Linked DNA regions of Homo sapiens: regions 2, 3, 4, 5, 6 and 7 are each linked to region 1. Evidence: promoter capture Hi-C in 16 types of primary human blood cells and fetal thymus (Javierre and others, 2016). All regions are on one chromosome and are shown on one strand. Each heading gives the region's core, a stretch centred on a gene start or on the middle of the fragment in contact. The rest is flanking DNA. Distances are from core to core; before and after follow the strand shown. Region 1 holds the start of NRIP1 (nuclear receptor interacting protein 1). Region 2 has its middle 50 kb from the start of HSPA13. Region 3 has its middle 17 kb from the start of HSPA13. Region 4 overlaps USP25 (ubiquitin specific peptidase 25). Region 5 holds the start of HSPA13 (heat shock protein family A (Hsp70) member 13). Region 6 overlaps USP25 (ubiquitin specific peptidase 25). Region 7 has its middle 36 kb from the start of RBM11.

Evidence for each region. Contacts are between HindIII fragments. The CHiCAGO score rates a contact against its expected background, and 5 or more counts as called.
Region 2: a contact is called between a fragment that was not itself captured here and the fragment with the promoter of NRIP1 in region 1, in 2 of 17 cell types (M0 macrophages and erythroblasts). The highest score is 6.4, in M0 macrophages.
Region 3: a fragment that was not itself captured here is called in contact with the fragment with the promoter of NRIP1 in region 1 in 4 of 17 cell types (M0 macrophages, erythroblasts, M2 macrophages and 1 more); the score reaches 6.1 in M0 macrophages.
Region 4: a fragment that was not itself captured here is called in contact with the fragment with the promoter of NRIP1 in region 1 in 3 of 17 cell types (naive CD8 T cells, naive CD4 T cells and total CD4 T cells); the score reaches 10.3 in naive CD8 T cells.
Region 5: the fragment with the promoter of HSPA13 here is called in contact with the fragment with the promoter of NRIP1 in region 1 in 7 of 17 cell types (erythroblasts, naive CD4 T cells, fetal thymus and 4 more); the score reaches 8.9 in erythroblasts.
Region 6: a fragment that was not itself captured here is called in contact with the fragment with the promoter of NRIP1 in region 1 in 1 of 17 cell types (naive CD4 T cells); the score reaches 5.2 in naive CD4 T cells.
Region 7: a contact is called between a fragment that was not itself captured here and the fragment with the promoter of NRIP1 in region 1, in 1 of 17 cell types (erythroblasts). The highest score is 5.0, in erythroblasts.

What each region holds. Positions count from the first base shown.
Region 1 is chr21:15,063,654-15,066,353 of GRCh38, forward strand. NRIP1 (nuclear receptor interacting protein 1) reads right to left here and starts at 1,347. Exons shown (of 4, transcript NM_003489.4): 1 at 1,092-1,347. RefSeq lists silencers at 579-1,438, 1,689-1,868 and an enhancer at 2,199-2,248. The HindIII fragment of the contact is 10,218 bases long and covers 1-2,700 here.
Region 2 is chr21:14,431,894-14,434,593 of GRCh38, forward strand. No RefSeq gene overlaps it. Among named protein-coding and RNA genes, the nearest start is that of HSPA13, 50 kb to the left of the region's middle. The HindIII fragment of the contact is 3,201 bases long and covers 1-2,700 here.
Region 3 is chr21:14,398,805-14,401,504 of GRCh38, forward strand. No RefSeq gene overlaps it. Among named protein-coding and RNA genes, the nearest start is that of HSPA13, 17 kb to the left of the region's middle. The HindIII fragment of the contact is 7,464 bases long and covers 1-2,700 here.
Region 4 is chr21:15,827,971-15,830,670 of GRCh38, forward strand. USP25 (ubiquitin specific peptidase 25) reads left to right here. Exons shown (of 26, transcript NM_001283041.3): 15 at 2,561-2,631. Among named protein-coding and RNA genes, the nearest start is that of USP25, 99 kb to the left of the region's middle. The HindIII fragment of the contact is 1,841 bases long and covers 413-2,253 here.
Region 5 is chr21:14,381,747-14,384,446 of GRCh38, forward strand. It overlaps HSPA13 (heat shock protein family A (Hsp70) member 13), which reads right to left and starts at 1,400. Exons shown (of 5, transcript NM_006948.5): 1 at 1,349-1,400. The coding sequence starts at 1,373. LOC105369304 (a long non-coding RNA gene) reads left to right here and starts at 1,020. Exons shown (of 2, transcript XR_007067924.1): 1 at 1,020-2,700. RefSeq lists enhancers at 1,107-1,416, 1,807-1,936. The HindIII fragment of the contact is 7,322 bases long and covers 497-2,700 here.
Region 6 is chr21:15,781,716-15,784,415 of GRCh38, forward strand. All of the region lies in intron 4 of USP25 (ubiquitin specific peptidase 25), which reads left to right. Among named protein-coding and RNA genes, the nearest start is that of USP25, 53 kb to the left of the region's middle. The HindIII fragment of the contact is 3,402 bases long and covers 1-2,700 here.
Region 7 is chr21:14,250,737-14,253,436 of GRCh38, forward strand. No RefSeq gene overlaps it. Among named protein-coding and RNA genes, the nearest start is that of RBM11, 36 kb to the left of the region's middle. The HindIII fragment of the contact is 983 bases long and covers 799-1,781 here.

The sequences.
Region 1 (2,700 bases), core at 97-2,596:
TTCCTTCACAATCCCACATGTAATCATTTACAATACCAGAAACAAACTCCAACTCAGTTCCACCAACTGGGTTTTTAAAAATCCTTGTGCCTAAGAACGTCTTTTTTCCCCAAAGTAAAATGTGCCATTAAAAAATATTTTTAAAACGCAAAAGTGCTTATCATTCCGTACTTCTTTTACTACCTTCAGCAGCCAATTATTGACGTGATAAAAGGTAGAAACTCCTGGAATGCTTCAGAGATCAACATGTGTCACAGACTCCCAGCCTGTCCGCCTCTAAGACACAGTTGGTTCCTTTGTTCCTTCTGACTGAACACCAACTCCTGATCAAAATTGGGAAACTACTTTGGAAGGGATGGGAGGGTCTGCAGAATACATCCACGGAAACCTTCATAAAACAATATTCAATCGTAATAAGGTGGACACAGAAGAAGGGAGAAAAGGCAGCCTCCCGGACTTCCACCGGGCTCACCCTAAATGGGGGCCGGCCCCTGGCTCCTGGTAAAATGATGGCTGAGGCCTCGGGTCCGTGAGCCTCGCCATCGGGAGGGGACCGCGAGTGCGGGCAGAGCGGCCCGGGGTCGGGTGGGGGCCGGGCGAGCTGTCCCTTTTCCTATTCACTTTCCCAGCCGGGTATCCAGCGAGCAAGGAGCAGGGAGGCACCCAGGCGAAAGGCGCCGCCCAGGATCCGGCTGGACAGCAGGACGGAGAGCGGCGAGGCGAGCGGTGCCCGGGGTTCGGGACCGAGAGGGCAAGCGAGCGGGGGCAACCCCGACCCGGCCCCCCGAGTCCGGCCCCGCTCAGGGGCCACGCGACGGCCGCCCCCTTGCCCAGAACTGGCACGGACGGGCGGGCCGACCCGGGGCCACTCCACAACTTGCCGGCCCGCCGCCCCGGCCCCCCGCGAGAACCCGGAGACTCGAACCAGGCAGCAGAGGCAGGATTTCCCCGGAAACGCGCCCTCCCCGCCGCCCCGACGCCCCCGCGGCCCTGCCAGCCAAGCGAGAGCCGACGCGGGCCGCGCTCCCGGGCCGTTTCCGGCGGCGCCGGCGGCCGCTACTCCTGGCGCCCTGGCCGCGGCCGTCACTCACCCCAGGCCGCCGCGGCTCCCAGCCTCCGGCTCCGTCAGGCTCGGTCCGCGAAGGCGCCTGCCGCCCCGTCCTGGCCCGGCGCCCCGGCGAGCTCTTCCCTCCGACCAGCGGCGCTCACGGCGCAGCGGCGGACGCGAGGCCACGGGCGGACGGGCGCGCGCGGGTGGCGGGCGGGCGTGGGGCCGGGTCGTCCCTGCGCCTCGCCGCCGCCTCCTCCGCCGCCGCCTCCCGAGTTCGGGGCTCTGCTGCAATGTCTGCGAGGCTGACTTTGAGCGCCTCGCTCACCGCCCGCCCGCAGCCGCGCTCCTCCCTCCGCCGCCGAGTCCGCCGCGGCCCAGTCCCTCCCCTCGCCGCCCCACGCCATTCAGCTCTTCAGCCAAGTTTCTTAACCCTTTTCTCCCCCTCCCTCCCATTGTCACCCGGTCAGGAGGAAGCCGCGCGGATCCGGGCGGCTCACAGGAGCTGCGGAACCCCCTCTGTTTCGTGGATTTCCTTCTCGCCTGCTCTCCGGGTGTCCCAGACGGGGCTGCAAGACCCGGAGGCAGCGAGAGGACCGCGTCCCCGAGAGAGGGGCTGCACGGCGCGCCCGGGCCGTCCCCCGGGCTCCCAGCTCTGTCCAGCCGCCCGCGACCGCTGCAGGCGCCTGGACAGCTCCTCCTGGGGACCGGGGAAAGCGCTCTTGGGACCCAGGCCGAATGCTCCCGTTTGGGCACAGCCTGGGGGCCGGGGCGCCCCAGACGCTCCAGGGTCCCCGCCTGCCTTAAGCGTCTACCTCCTCCCCTTCACCCCACAACACGCGCTCTCTGGGCCCCCTTTCACCCACCCACCCCCAATTTCTATCTCCTTGTAATCTGTGTGTCCTGCTTTAATGTTGGGGGGCACGGGCGCGAACTCTGGGTCACTTTGACCCCACGCCCAGCACGTAGTAGGCGCCCAGCACTCGTGTGGAGCGACTCTGGGAGGAAAACTAGGAAGGAGACCTGAGGAGCGCCCCGCTCAGCTCCCTGGACAGACGTAGGACCCAGGAGCAGGGTTAATCCTCGGCTGCTTTGTCACTGCGAAGTCTCCAGCGGAGTCTGTCAGCCAATCTGCATCATCCCCGGGAAGGATCTGACCCAACAAGACAAGGGAAAAGGAGCAGGGCTGCTACTTCTTCAGCAGCTCTCCTCGGTTCGGTCTCCGAATAAGAAATAACAATTACATCACGAGGCCGGGGCGGCAGCGCGGTGGAGCCTCTCGGTTTCCTGCAGCCTAATCTCACTGAACCCGCCTCTAAATTGGGGGGGCCACAGATTGGTGAAACGAGAAAGTGGAAGGAGGAGAGAGTCATACGAAACCATAATTTCCCCTTATCCTTGTATTTGCTGTTTGAAAAATCGTATCCTCAACGCTCCCCAGACATCTCACTAGAACTATTAACACCCCCTCAACACCTCCCCAGATGTCAGGTTTCTTTTTGACTTGAGCATCTAGCATTTAGTAATTCGCCATGAAAAAAATTACCAGGGGAAGCGAGTGTTGTTGCTGAAATTGTTTTTGCTTGACACAAAAAAGCTAAAGTACAGCTTAGTCTCACCCGAAATTCTGAAACGGCATGCCCGTGTTAAAA
Region 2 (2,700 bases), core at 139-2,638, 630 kb before region 1:
GGTTAATATGCAAAATCTGTAAGGAGTTCACACAACTCAATAGCAAAAAACAAGTAATCTAATTAAAATTTGGTAAAGTACCCCAATAGGCATTTCTCCAAAGAAGATGTAAAAATGTCCACCAGGCATATGAAAAGGTGCTCAACATAACTAATCATCGGGGAAATGTAAATCAAAATCACAATGAGATACTGTGTCACACCTGTTACAATGGTTATATCAAGAAGACAAGAGAAGTGTTGACAAGGGTGTGGAGGAAAAGGGAGCTTTTTTATACTGTTGGTGGGAAGGCAAATTGGAACAGCCATTATAGAAGACAGAGTGGAGTTTCCTCAAAAAATTAGAAGTAGAACTACCCTATGACCCAGCAATTCCTCTTTTGGGTATACATCTAAAAAAATTAAAACAATATGTTGAAGGGATACCTGCATCTCCATGTTTGTTGCAGCTTTATTCACAATAGATAAAATATAGAAACAATCCAACTGTCTGTCCATAGATGAATAGATAAAGAAAATATATAGGCATATATGTATGTGTGTGTATTTCATACATATATAAAATACACATATATATGAATATTATTCAATCTTAAAGAAGGAGATTCAGCCAATTGTAACAGCATGGATGAAGTTGGAGAATATTATGCTAAGTGAAACAAGCCAGACATAGAAAGAAAAATAGTACATGGTTTCACTTACATCTAGAATTTAAAAAGAGTTGAATACATAGAAACAGAATTGAATAGTGGTTATCAGAGGCTGAAGGATGGGGAAAAAATGAGGAGATGTCAGTCAAAGGGTTTCAGTGTTGCAGTATCTCAGAATGTAACTGTATTTGGCTACAGGCCTTTGAATAGATGATTAAGTTAAATAAGGCTGTTAGGGTGGTCCCTAATTCAATCTGACCAGTGCCCTTGTAATAAGAGGGAATTTGGACACATAAAGAGACACCAGGAATGCACAAGCACAGAGTAAAGTCCATGTAATGGCACAGTGAAAAGGTGACCATCTCAAGCCAAGGAGAGAGGACTCTTTTGGCCTCAGAAGAAACCAAACTTGCTAATCTCTTAATCTTGGACTTCTAGTCTTTAGGGTGATGAGAAACTATATCTCTGTTGTTTAATCCACCAGTCTGTGGTATTTTGTTATGGCAGCCATAGCAAACTATTAGTTAGACAAGAACACTGCTAATGTCTTTTCTAGACCTAAAATTCTACTGTTGTTTTTAAAAGATTGCTGCTGTTTTCTTGAGAGTCAAAAGTAAATGCAGATAATTCCCATTATCCTGGTGTGGTCTTAAGGAAATTTTTAGTGTTCTCATTATCTTTCTTCCTTTATTTCTAGATACTTACTATAAGTTTTCTAGTAGCAAGATTGGAATCCCATCAGTTGACAGTGTATGAGCCTAATATTATACATTGTAAATCATTCTCACTAGCATTTTGTGTATACTTATTAATATATTTGTTATTTCAATTCAGAATCATTGCTTAAGTTTTCTGATCTTTATAGTTTCTCTGATTATCCTCTGATTGATAAAGTCTTTATGATTAAACTCTTCAGACATTACCATTTTGTTTCTACAATGTCGATATCTTCATGTTTCCAGTATCTTCACTATCAGATCCTTGCCATATCATCCTTTTCACATAATTATGATAAATTATAAAAATCTCACTGTATTTGGTATTATTGTAAGTTAAATGATATGTTCAGGATTTGCAAAGGTATATTGCACATTTTCATGATGTCACAAAAAACTAATGATAACCAGGACTCCTTAGATAAATGATTAATTCTAAAACTGAGGCAGAAAATGTACAAGCTGAGCCCGGACCATTTTTTAGTGCAGAAAGCAAATAAATGCTTACAAACAAACAAACAAACCCATATTGATGTAGGTGTGTCGAAGGGACACAGGAGTCAACTGAAAGCGCTCCCAATGGCCAAAGGTGGAATAAGTTGAGCAAGAAAATAAAGTAGTACAGGATAAAATTTCAAAGTATAACATCCATATCCATGAGTCCATATTGATATAATAATATCAATATCATAAATGATTGAATAAATAAGTAATTAGGAGAGAATGGACACATCTCCCATATAGAAGAATTCCAAATAATTTATGTAAACACTCCACTCTCATGGAGGGGGTAGACATAATGACTTCCCTCCAACAGTGCAGTATGGAAAGTGATGGAGGGAATGAGTAACTTTACGGTGAAGAAGCCTGATGAAGCTAACTGAGCGTGATTATCAATGTCAACATTAATAGTCATAACTCATGTTGATAGTATGTACCCTTGACACGCTGTCACAAAAATAGCACTTTATTTCTGTAATATTCCTTTCCCCCAAGCCCAATAACCTCAGTATAATCATGAGAAGAACATCAAACAAATTCCAGTGGAGGGACATCCCACAAAATACTTTACTCCTCAAAAGTGTTCAGATCATCAAGTAAAAACAAAAACTAGGAAACTGTCACAGGCATCAGGAGCCTAAGGAGACAGACATAATAGCTGAATGCAATGTGGCATCCTGAATGAGTTCCTGGAATAGGAAAAGGATATTAGGTAAAAACCAAGGAAATCTGAACAAATTATGGACTTCGATAAATGAATAACAATGCATCTGTATTGGTTCATTAATCATAACAAATGTACCATATTACAAACAGGAAAAACTGAGCCTGGAG
Region 3 (2,700 bases), core at 159-2,658, 660 kb before region 1:
CCATTAACCAACCTCTCTTCATCCCCATTCCCTTCCCAGCCTCTAGTAACCATCATTCTACTCTCTACCTCCATAAGAGGTAGCTCCCACAGATGAGTGCTAACAGTGATATGTGTCTTTCTGTGCCTGGTTTATTTCACATAACATAACGACCTCCAGTTCCATTGATGTTGCTGCAAATAGGATTTTATTTTTTATGGCTGAATAGTATTCCATTCATCCTGTACAATTGGGAAACTATTTGCAAATTATTCATTGAACAATGTACTAATATCCAGAATATGTAAGTAACTCAAACAGCTCAATGACAAAAAAACAAATAATCCCATCAAAAAGTGGGCAAAGGATCTTAATAGACATTTCTTAAAAGAAGACATACAAATGACAACAGGTATATGAAAAAATACTCAACATCACTAATCATCAGGGAAATGCAAATAAAAGACAATGAGATATCATCTCACCTCTGGTAAAATGGCCGTTATTAGAAAGACAAAAAATGACAAGTGCTGGTGAAGATGAGGAGAAGGTGGAACTTTTATACACTGTTGGTGGAAATATAAATTAGTATAACCATTATGGAAAACAGTATGAAAGATTCTCAAAAAACTAAAAAAAGAACTATTGTATGCTCCAGCAATTCCACTAGTGGGTACTTATCCAGCAGACAGGAAATCAGTCATCAAAAGAATACCTGCACCCCCATGTTTTATATTGGCACTATTCACAATAGCCACATAGACTTTTAATTGAGCTACATACTTGCCAACACTTAGCATTTATCATGCTGGTCAATATTTTCTAGTCTGATGAAAGTAAAATGACATCTGTTTGTGATATTTATTTGCATTTTTCTAATTGTTAATGAAATTAAATAATTTTTCATAAGTTTACTCTCCATTTTTTATTTTCTATAAATGCTTGTTCATGTAAATTTTCTCATTTTTCTAATTTTTTTCTTTCCAATTTTAGGAATTCTTTATATATTTTGGTTACTAATGTTTTACAAGTTATACATGTTGCAAATGTCTCTATGGCTTATTTTTAAATATCTTTGTAATATCTTTAAATGACATAAGTTTTTAATTATATAATGTGGTCAATTTTATGATTAGTACCTTTTGTATCATTTAAAATCTCCTAACCTACCCTGAGTCATTAATACATTCTTCTATTTTATCTTTTTTAACTTTCATATTTGGGCCTTTAATCAACCTGGAACTGATTTGTGCATGTAGTGTGCTGTAAGGATCCTATTTTTCCCCCATATTTATAACTATGAGCCAACACTATTAGTGAATAGTCTAATTTCTGCAATGTTTTGCATGGCTATCTCTATCACATATTAAATTTTAATACTCACAAGTCTGTTTTTGAGCTCTCTATTTTGTTTTACTGGCCAATTGATCTAATACTGTTTTAATTATTATATTTTTATAATAGTTTATGCTGTTAATCAGGACAAAGATCTTCACTTTTTCTCTCTTCTTCATGAGTGTGTTGACTATTTTTCTTCCTTTTATTATTTATGTCAGTTTTAGAAAAAAATTTTTAAGATGATTCAACTTGATTCTGAGCAACCAACCTGGCTTTATATTAAGCCTGTCGTAGGCCCCTGGCTACATCTGTGATTTTCGAGTTTATCTTCGCTGTTTCATTACTGGCCCAGGATTTGGAGTGATGATCTTGGCATTTGCTCCAAAGGCATCACTGTCTCTTGGAGATTCTTTTGTTTTTTCTTTTTGAGTTTTAGCAAACTTATTTTATTTTTTGTCCCTTACAGGTTTGCCTGAAATTCTCAGTAGCCCAGCATGCAATAAAAACAATGTTTCATGGAAGCTCTTTTTTTTTCCCTAGTGAGAGGGAGCTTTGCATATGTAATATACAATTCTAGAAGTTCTCCAGATTTCTTATGTTGTAAACTTAAAACTCTGAGCCAAAAATATCATATTTTGAATTAACTGTTGACCTCAGAAATGACAATTTTTACTTGTGAGTTAGGGTAGGTGAAAGTGACTGAACACCTTAACTTCTGTCATTTCCTCTCTACTGTACATTATTGCAGAACTGGAAAGAACTTTACAGCTAAATAGTGAACAGCCCTTAACTTTCTTTCTCTCTTATTTAGAAGCTATAAACCAGAGATGATTTGTTTTCCAGATAAGGATATACTAATCAATAGTAGTGAAAAGCCATGCCAAAATGAGAGAGGCAGCCTAGTAAAATCTCTATGTCAGTTATTTATGTCAAGAGCATTTAAAAAGTAGGCCAGAATGTAGAGTAGCTTGAATTATATCCTTCAAACAAAGAAGTAATTAAAACAAACAAATATAAAACAAAAACCTAGCAGGAGGATTATCATGTTGTTAACTATTATTCAATGTCAGGCTTCATAATGACTCTAGGATACTGAGAATGAATTTTGAAATTATTAATTGAAACTCTGCCATTTGAATTTCTAGCAAGATCTTTCTATCAATACTTATCATTTTCACCATAGTAGTCCACTAACATTTTGGCATGCAATCGTTTGGATGTAGTTTGAAGTGGCCTTCAATGTTGACATTTAGCTTCTTAAGAATGAAACAGGGACAGGTGTCCTCACCAGATAGGCCAGGTGGGATCATGCAAAAAGCAGAATCTTTGGAGCCAGACAGACCTGCCTTCACATGCCAATACACAATCTGAGAGAACATTCTC
Region 4 (2,700 bases), core at 83-2,582, 760 kb after region 1:
TTCCTTAAATGTGAAAATATAATTCCCTATTATCATTCCCCAATTTTATGCTGATTTATTGATTTTTGAAAAAAATGAACTATGTGACATGGTTGGAATTATATTGAACAATATTGATTGTTGGATATTATATGACCAACTTAACTCTTTATAGACAATATTTGAAAAAGAATGGCCCTAATTTAGTAAGAAGTACATAAGGTATGATGGTGACTAACAGCATTAGTAGCTGTCAAGATTTTCTTTAGTATTTTTCAAATAAGAGGGAATTTTTAAAAATATTTGAACTCATTAACAAACATTAATCAAGCAAATAGTGTTGATGAAGCACTATATTAGGCGTTGGGTAATTTTCTACTCCTCATGGCAGGTTGTTTTTAAAAGATTACATTCAGAGGAGTGGAAGCTAGGAAGCTTTTGACACCTAAGTAGTGGCATTGAGGGAGGGAAGAAGTGAATGTACTTAAAATACTCTTTGGAGACAACTGACAGATGTGGGTCATTGGCTAGAGGTAAGAGAGAGGGACGAATCGAATGATTCTCTCAGTTCATAATGGTATGAATAACCAAATAGAATGTATTTTGGAAAAAAGGTAAAGCAGTGGGCAAAGAGGTTCCCACTCAGGGGAGGAAAGAGAAATATGATGAGTTCTCTTTTGGCCATTTTAAGTTTGAAGAGCTTTTTTGAGACGGAGTCTCGCTCTGTCACCAGGCTGGAGTGCAGTGGCATGAACTCGGGCTCACTCCAGCCTCTGCCTCCCAGGTTCAAGCGATTCTCCTGCCTCAGCCTCCCAAGTAGCTGGGATTACAGTTGTGTGCCACCACACCCAACTAATTTTTGTATTTTTAGTAGAGATGGGGTTTCACCATGTTGGCCAGGGTGGTCTCAATCTCTTGACCTTGTTATCCGCCCACCTCAGCCTCCCAAAGTGCTGGGATTACAGGCGTGAGCCACCATGCCTGGCTGTTAAGATTTTTATATGTAATACTATGGATCAGGAAAGAAGGTTTTCCTCAGGATATTTTTTTTCTTTCTTTCATCCATATTGATGTTAGCAGTTAGCATTATTTTGTAAACTATTGTGTAATATTCCAACACACGGGTATGATGTAATTCATTTAATTCCCATATTGATATTTCCTAAATAGTGCTGGTCTTCGATATACATATTTATACACTTCTGTAAGTAGGATATGTTCTTTTTTATGTTCAGGGGTACATGTGCAGGTTTGCTATAAAGGTAAATTACATGTCTTGGGGGTTTGGTGTAAGATTATTTCATCATGCAGGTAATAAGCACAGTACCTGATAGGTGGTTTTTCCATCCTCACCCTGCTCCCACCCTCCACCCTAATGTAGGCCCCAATATCTGTTGTTTCCTTATGTCCACCATTTCTGGTTCAGAGTGTGTATATTTTAAATTTTGACGACTGTTTTAAAATTGTCACTCCAAAACATTAAACCAGTTTGCATTCCCACTGTGTGAGAGAGCCTGTCTCCCAGTATCCTCCCTAGCCCTGGACACTTTTTAGTAGTTTTTCACAATTGAAAAACTGGTATTTTAGTGTTTTGATTTGCATTCCCTTAGCTTCGAGTGAAGTTGGATATTTATATTGTTCTGTAAATTTCTTGTTTGTGACATTTGCCCATTTTTTAAGTATTGAGCTATTTGTATTTTTCTTATTACTTAATAGAAAGTTTAATGTATTGTGGATATTAACACTTTACCTATAATATCACATATGCTGCAGATATTATTTTCCCAGTTTTTCATTTGATTTTATGTTGGTTTTGTTTTCTTTTTATAATGTAGATTTTTTAAAGTGTTGGGCAGGGAGGATCTTATCTTTTCCTATAAGGTTACTAGTTTTCTGACAGGCTTAAGACAGGTCTTTCCCCACTCTAAAGTTAGCCAGTTTCTTTTATAGTTTTTCAAGGTTTCTTCCTGATTGGTTCAGCAGCTTCACAATATGATGTGGTTACAATCTAACCGTTTCCTTATTGACAGATATTTAGGTTATCTCTTTTTTAAAAATTATTGTGGACAATATGACTGTGAACATCCCTATCTGAACAATTTTGTAGGATTATTTTCTACTAGAAGTAGAAATAATTGTCATGGGAGTGCCATAATTTTATTTTCACTGGTGATTATAGTCGATTTTTATTCAGTTATGTGTGTGTACAAGATATGTGGTGAACATGTTTTACTTTGTTCTTAAGTTTACTTGTGTTATAGCAATATGTAAGGAAGCTTAGCTTTCATTTTCATTGAAACTCTCCTTTATAGATTTGAACAAAATTCACTTTTATTGGCTCTGCACATTTTCTAGATAAATCATATTTGTGTTGTTTTTAAAGTATGCATTTGTACTGTGTCTTTTATTAAGAATAACTATAATTCATTTTCTACAGATTTCAAATGGTAATGTTTTTTAAGAAAAGTTTTAGGAAAATTTTCCTATTCCTCTAACATGTTTGTAGGAAAAACATTAGTCCTTATCTTATAAGTAGAAACACATTTGCTGTTAATCATTAAATGACACCTTATATCCTTAGATTTGCAGGAAAGCATATCCAGAATCCATCGAACAATTGAATTAATGTACTCTGACAAATCTATGATACAAGTAAGTGAAATTTTGAGCTAGTAATCATTGTCAAAATTATTTACATATATTTTAATTTACCTTTACATT
Region 5 (2,700 bases), core at 150-2,649, 680 kb before region 1:
AAGTAAACACAAACAACAAAAAACCCTATAACTGTATGTTTGTGTCATTCTCTAATAAATGTAATAAAATGTAAAAATATTTCAATAATATTTGTGCAGATGCTGACAAGAAACAACATTTATCTGGAGCAAAAGCCAGATATAATCTAATATTCTTGATCAATTGATATTTAGATTTTACAGCTTTATAAAAAGCTTCGATTATCTTTTTTTAAAAGCTCCATTATTAAAATTCTCACAAGAAAAACTTTATTATTTTATAAGTCTAAAATTCTCTCCTCGTATCTCACCTCCTTTTCCCTTTCAAAAGGATGAAATGAATAAATGGGATAAAATGATTTTGAAAGTTCCTTAGATATGAAACTGTCACTTCAAAACAGAACACAGTTAACTTTTTATGTATTTAAGTATGAACTAGGGACTTCCTTCTTGCAGTGGTAATATTTAGGGGAGAAGAAGCATAAAGGTGGGCAACCCTGACGGCAACATCTATGAAAGCTTCTTGAAGACAAGTTTCGTTCACTGTTGTATCCCCCAGACCAGGAATAGCAGATGCCCAACAAATACTAATTTAAAAAAAAAAGAAAAAAGAGTAGGAACAAATGCCACGCAGATTGTAAACATAAGCGAAGAAAGATGCCCCTTTAGTTTTTAATGAATCTCGTATTTGGTATCAGGAGGCTGTGTTATACACCTGTGTCCGCTCATATTACATATGACCCAAAACATGAATTTTCAGGGCTCTGTGTTACTAATTGTTAGCTCATCCTCATCAACACATAACTCAAAGAAATAAAACCAAGTGCGAATCCCACTTTCCACTTCCAGCTACAGGCAACATTTCAGAAGCATTTCATCACCTTGGAGACGCGGGGTGGGTGTGTGTGTGGGTGGGGGATAGGTAATTCCAAACCCGATGTGATGGAAAAAGCCTCCAAATTCAGCATCCCTGAGCCGACAGATCCGGATGTAGCTCCTCCCCCTTCCTCCACAAAGGGGTCCTGGAGGTGCACGTTCTCGCAGCCTTCCATAGCTTGCCCCAATTCAACAGGCAATTCAAAAACCTAGGTGCTGTTGAAAGGAACGCCTCCCTAAGCCTGATGTCCCTGGGATGGACACAGCTGGTCGCCGTCTATCCTACCTTGGCCTGCAGGGGCCGGGGCCCTCCTAGAGGCGTCCCCGCCCCCATCCACTCCGAACAGCCGAAAACCGTCTCTAAGTCACCTTTCTGACTCCCCTTCCGCTGCTCCAGCTAGATCCAGGAGGTGAGTCAACCACCCCTGCCCACTCTGGCATCCTCAGATCGCCTCTACGCCCGCAAGAGCAACAAGGACCCCCGGGAACCCACCTAAGATCGTCATCTCTCTGGCCATCACAGTCCCGCCGAACAGGCTTGTGATGACTGTACCAGACGTGAGGCACCGCCCCCACTCCTCCCGGCAGTCCCGCAGCCCCCTGGGAAATGTAGTCCGCTTGCTCTGAGGCAATCGGAGAAGCTATCGCTCTGACCAAAGCAAGGACTTCATCTACCGTGAGGGCGCGGGGCAAAGAGCCTCCATTCAACCGCTGCCAGTGACGACTGAGTCCCCCTTCCACGCAACGGCCGGCAGGACCAGTGAGACTGAGGGGGAGGAGCGCCGTGGCGAGAGACTGGCGTTTATAATCAAACCTGTGGTCCCGCGATCCTACTTGAGGGAAAACAGGCTATCTCTTTAGCCCCGCCCCGCGCTTTGCATTCTGGGAAGCGGAGTTCCAGCCTTTCTCTTTCCGCGGGAGGGAATGAAAGGGAGGGTGAGAACCGTTAGTTATTTCTTTCTTTGGTCGTGCCCCTAATCAGGTCCAGGATTCGAGTTTGTGTTCTTTCGTTTTAATTCCTTTTAAAGCGCGTTCGTTTGCCTGAGATCTAGCTTCTAGATGGCGTTCCTATAGCCTCCCGGAGCCCCAGCCATCCTCCGTAGAAGGGTCCCTGCCGCAGTGCGGGGCCTGAGGGAAGTCGGCTCTGGCGTCCGTGCTCCAACGCTGGGAGCAGCCCTGAAACTCCAGTGACCCTCAGCCGTCTGCCTTTGTTTTGGGATAAATGAATTCAAGCATTCTTCAGTCAATTCGATTTATCCAAGGGATCAGGGACACATTTTCTCTATTGCTAGCACTGACGTGGGCCATTAAAAACAAAAACAAAAACGAAATTAAAAAGAAAACCCTTAGCTCTCTCTTCAAGTAAGTCTTAAGTGGCCAAAATTGACCTTATGGGCAAGTCCTGTAACGTGACAGCCATTTTAGGACGCTTGTGACATGCTGTTCAGGTTCTAGTCTGAAGTAGGATTTTTCTCGCATCTTGGTCACTGGTAGCACTTAATGACTCCTCTGAGAGTGGTTTTGTCATTTTTGCTGTTAGAGTTCACGATAACTAAGATCCTGGAGAATTGAATCCATTTTCTCAGCTTAGATATAAATCAAACCATCCCTGTTGACAACACGTCAGCCTGCTGTGGGAATACATTGCTGGTTATTTCTGACTTATCAATGTGAATTTTGATTATGGAAGCTGAATTCTGGTTGATAGGGATCCATTGTAATGTTCTCTCTACTTTTGCGCATTTTTAAGTATTTCATAATGCGAAATATAAAAAGTGTGTGTCTATAGTGAGTGCTGTTCAATAAGATTCTTATAAGGAGTGAAGAATTCAAGCACTTAGTTCT
Region 6 (2,700 bases), core at 123-2,622, 720 kb after region 1:
CTCTTCTTATAGGAAGAAGGTAAGCGGAGAATCATCAGTCCTCATCACCACCACAGGTGCCAGCAGTCACTGCTACAAGAGAGTTCCCCAGTCCTCACAGGTCCCAAGTCCAGCATGAACAGTTGCTGAAAGTGCATGTGGCTACATTCCCCCACAGCAGGAACCTCTTTGACACCCTGCACCCCTGCAATCCAAGCAGCTAAGGGATGACACAACTGTGAAACCAAGCCCACATCTGGAGTGCTTCCTGACCTGGAGGCCAGTAGCCACCCTGTATCCCAGAGGCATTGCCCTCATTCCACAAAGTTCACACAAGTGCCTCTAGCACTAATACCTTGGCTACTTGGAGCCTAGGCTCAAAGGCACAACTGGGGCCCTGATACCTAAACCCACAAGGCTCCCTATTACCCAGGGAAGCAGGTGGGCCTGCATGGCCGGGCAGCCCCATGCGGCCACCAGGCTAGTGTACATCTGTCCCTGGCTCTAGCTGGCCTGGAGGTGGCCCCACCCCAAGGGAGAGAGTAGTATACAGCCAGTGGGCCTGTGTGAACTTGCTCCCAGCTTGAATAGCTGGCCCAGAGGTTGTCTGCCTGTACCACTGGAGGATTGTGCACAGCTGCCGGGCCACAATTTCCTGCCTTTAGTCCAATAGCTGGTTTGGAGGCACTCTTTCCGCAGCTCAACCCTACATCACCAGAGTCATGCACAGCCTCCAGACCTGTGTGCATCCACCCCTGGCCTGATAGCCAGCCCAGCAGTAACCCTGCTGCCATTCAGGAGAGACAGTCGTACAACCTTTCTGGCCTGCTGCATCAGCATGTGCCTGACCAGCAACCAGCTTGGTGCCAACTCCAGAAAAACCATGCCACCACAGTCATGGGCTTCTGCATACTAAGTCACTGAGATAATCACGGACATCGCAGGTGAGGATTCCAGCTGAATAATCTGTTTGGACACCACAATACTGAGTCCACCCTGAACCAAAGCCACCACACGCCATTTCCAATCAGCACCCTAGGACCCATCAACAGGAAAAAACCTCTTCCTATGAAAGCTGCTCGTTAAAATTGGAAAAAGCAATTGTCCATTACATGCACAGGTACCAACATAGAGACAGAAGAATCATGAAAAAGCAAGGAAACGTGTCACCCCCAAACCTGGCACCACAATGCATCTTTAGTAATGGAATCCAAAGAAAAGAATATTTATGAAATGCATGAAAAATAATTCAAAATAATGACATTAAAGAAACTTTTGAGTTGTAAGAGAATACAACAATTTAACGAAATTAATAAATTCATTAGCTGAGTGAGAAATTGAACAAAGATAGATATTATGGAAAGGAACAAAACAGGAATCTTGGAGCTTGAGGAATTAAGTGAATGAAATTAAAAAAAATACAATTGAGAGCCACAGTAACAGACTAGAACATGCAGAATAATACATTTCTGAACTTGAAGACAGATCGTTTGAAATAACCCATTCAGAAGAAGAAAAAAAAAAAAGAATAACAAAGTATGAAGAAAGCCCATAGGACTTATCAGACACCATTAAGCAAACCTATATTCATATTATGGGAGTGCCAGAGAAAGAATAAGTGAAGAGAGGCATAGACCACCCATTTGGTTAAATAGATTGCCTGTGTCCTTCTGCACTTCTTGGAAGGAAGTCTTGGAAGTTATGGACATCTAGGAATGAAAAGATCCCCAATAAAATTCAGCCCCTCAAAATCCTCTCAAAGGTACACAATTCTAAAAGCTGTAAGACAAAAACATTACGTCACATATATGGGAATTCCCATTAGACTGTCAGTACATTTCTCAGCAGAGACTGCACAAGACAGGAGAGAGTGGGATGACATATTCACAGTGCTGGGAAAAAATAAAAATAAAATATAAAAATAAAAACTGTCAGCAGAGAATATATCCGGCAGTGCTATCCTTAAGAAATGAAAAAGAAGGGCCGGGCGCAGTGGCTGATGCCTGTAATCTCAGCACTTTGGGAGGCCAAAGCAGGCAGATCACGAGGTCAGGAGATCGAGACCATCTTGGTTAACATGGTGAAACCCCGTCTGTACTAAAAAAAAAAAAAAAAAATACAAAAAATTAGCCAGGCATGGTGGTGGGTGCCGGTAGTCTCAGCTACTTGGGAGGCTGAGGCAGGAGAATGGCGTGAACCCAGGAGGCGGAGCTTGCAGTGAGCCGAGATCGCGCCACTGCACTCCAGCCTGGGCGACAGAGCGAGACTCCGTCTCAAAAAAAATAAAGAAAAGAAAAAGAAATAGAGACGTTTCCAGACAAGCAAAGGTGATGGAATTCATCACCACTGGACTGGTCCTACAAAAACACTTAGAGGAAATAATAGGAAATGAAAGAATGATTAATACCATGAAAATATGTGAAAATACAAAACTCATCAATATAGGTAAATCCATAATCATATTCAGAATACCCCAGTGCTGTAATGGTGCTGTGTAATTCCTTCCGTCCTCTAATATGAAGGTTTAAAGTTAAAAATGTCAGAAATATCAACAGCTACAATTAGTGGCTAAGGAACACATGAAAGATAAAGATGTGGCTGGGCGTGGTGGCTCACGCCTGTAATGCCAGCACTTTCGGAGGCTGAGGCTGGCGGATCATCTGAGGTCAGGAGTTTGAGACCAGCCTGATGAACGTGGAGAAACCCCGTCTCCACTAAAAA
Region 7 (2,700 bases), core at 40-2,539, 810 kb before region 1:
AGTGCTGATGACTTAATGGCAGCCTAATATCCTGAAAGTAAACTAATCTGTCACCATAGCTTTTTTTTTTTTTTTTTGAGACAATCTCCTCTGTTACCCAGGCCGGAGTGGTGCAATCTTGGCTCACTGCAACCTCTGCCTCCTGGGTTCAAGCGATTCTCCTGCCTCAGCCTCCTGAGTAGCTGAGATTACAGGCATGCACCATGAAGACTGGCTAATTTTTGTATTTTTAGTAGAGACGGGGTTTAACCATGTTGGCCAGGCCTGTCACCATAGCTTTTGAGGGCTATTTGGTACCTTTAAATCAAATAAACTGGGTATTAATTCTTCTTAACACTCACCTGAAGATTCATTGTTTATTAATACTTAAGTCAAGTGTGTAATGATAAGTAATCTGATTGCAGGCACATATACATTTAATTTGATTTATATGGTTACTTAGAACATTTTCAGAACTTACCATATTCTAGCAGTTCTAAATTCCCTATATAACAGGTCCTTTAATATTTCTTCATGAAATGGAATACCTGAAATCCATATCCATCCCATATTAAGTACAGAATCATGGACCAATGAAATTTGCATAATTTTATATGCAAAGTGGGAGACAATGATCTATCCCCACGTTGGGGCTAAAGTACTAAGATTGTCCTAAGTACCTTGTAAATGCTTAGTAAATATGATTTTCCCTCTAGACCACAATAATTATTCCACATTTGTTCAAGAGTTCTATTTGTACTTATGAGAGGGCACATGGAAATGGACCAACATTCTGTCAGTACAAACACTGAAAAGCAAAGCTTTGTTCCCCAAGAATGAGAGAACACTCAACAAAGCAGCATGGTTTAACAGCTTGCAATGTTAACAAAAGGATATTTTACAGTATGTTCAGCTCTCCATATCTCTGTGCCTATGCTTATCCATTGAATCAGATAATTGATATCATCCTTTAATTCAGTTATCTGTGCAAGAATCTATTTTAATATTTCTTTACCCTGTAGAAAACAGGATTAGAAGAGGACTATACCTCATTTCCTCAATTTTTAAGTCCATTATCTAACTAGCATATTCAGATTGTGAAGGAAAAGTTGCTATAATGTGATACAGCAGGAACAGTGAGTTAAAATTCTTCCTAGCAAATCCAAGGCAACTATATTCACATCCTAGAGTGCAGTGATGATGGACATAACTAGATATTCGGTGTTCAACATATCATTTTACTTTATTCTACAGTTTTATCTATGCAAAGACAATGTTCGTGTTCTGACTTATCATCTCCTCTGCTACCATGGAGACACCAATGTTTAAAATACTTTACAAAATTCATTTTTGCAGTGAGAAATAGAAGAGCAATATATGTTTTACATGTGTCTGAGAATTGTTATATTATAATCCTGCAGCTTTCTGAAAGACAAATAGCAGTTGATAAATACAGAATGGTTATACAGAATTATCAATCCTTCTTAGTGGCTTTCAGAAGGCTAAGGAAATCATTTCAGACTTAAGAACTATGAAGCCAAACTAAACACTAATCCCAGAAAAAGACTCCTTGTCTTGCATTCTAACCATAAGTACTTCCTTTGAGATTTCGTAAAACAAGAAAACAAAAGCAAACAAACAAACAAAACCCTTAAAAACAGGGTTTGGCTATTAATCCAACTAATTCTTATATGCGGAATTTTTTTCTGATTTATCAAATCCAGTAGAGAGTAACAACCAGTTAACTACACAGTAAGCAAACTCCACTCTGACAACCATAATTCAAGAAGCTGTAGACATCAAGCTTCTAGTAAAAAGTACAGAGTCAGGGGCATTCAGTATATGTTAGGACTGATCAATTAACTCTCCTTGACCCTTTGCTCTTCTCTCATGATGCTTTTTGTCAAAAATACAGTCATCATCACTTAATCGTGGGGATATATTCTGAGACATGTGTCATTAGGTGATTTAGTTGTTGTACCAACATCATAGAGTGTACTTACACAAACCTAGATAGAAAGACTAACTACCCACCTAGGCTATATGGTATAGCTTATTGCTCCTAGGCTACCACCCTGTACTGCATGTGACTGTCCTGAATACCACATGCAATTGTAACACAGTGGTATCTGTGTATTTAAACATATCTAAACATAAAAAAATACAATAAAAATGCAGTATTATAATCTTATGTGGTCAACCACCGTATATGCTGTCACATAGTTCAGTTGTTGACTGAAATGTTGTTATGTGGTGCCTGGCGGTATCTCATCCATCAACTCTGTGAAGCACACCTGTGTCCATATTCCATCCCCCACCAAGCTCACCCTGAATACCAATCCCTTATACAAAAATGCCTATTGTGTGCTATAACTGTGGATATTGAATGTTGTTGATTGTTTGGAAAACAGGGGTGAAAAGCCAAGATTCAAAATAATAGGAAGTTCTGCTTCAAAAACTAAGCACTTCTCCCTGAATTCCCTCTCAGGAAGGGAACCCTTCTTGAAATGTATCTCAGAGGTGACAATGGACAGCTTTTTAAAAAAACTCCTTTTAATCACACACTTGTGTGTGCATAGGTATCTGGCTGACACCTGATCATTAAGAATAAAATAGATTATTTTGGTCCACAGAATTTCACAGATGGGTAGTAAAAGTCAGTTGCCAGTTCCATTAAATAAATAAAACAACAACAACAAGAACCTTAGTAGAGCTCCTTTA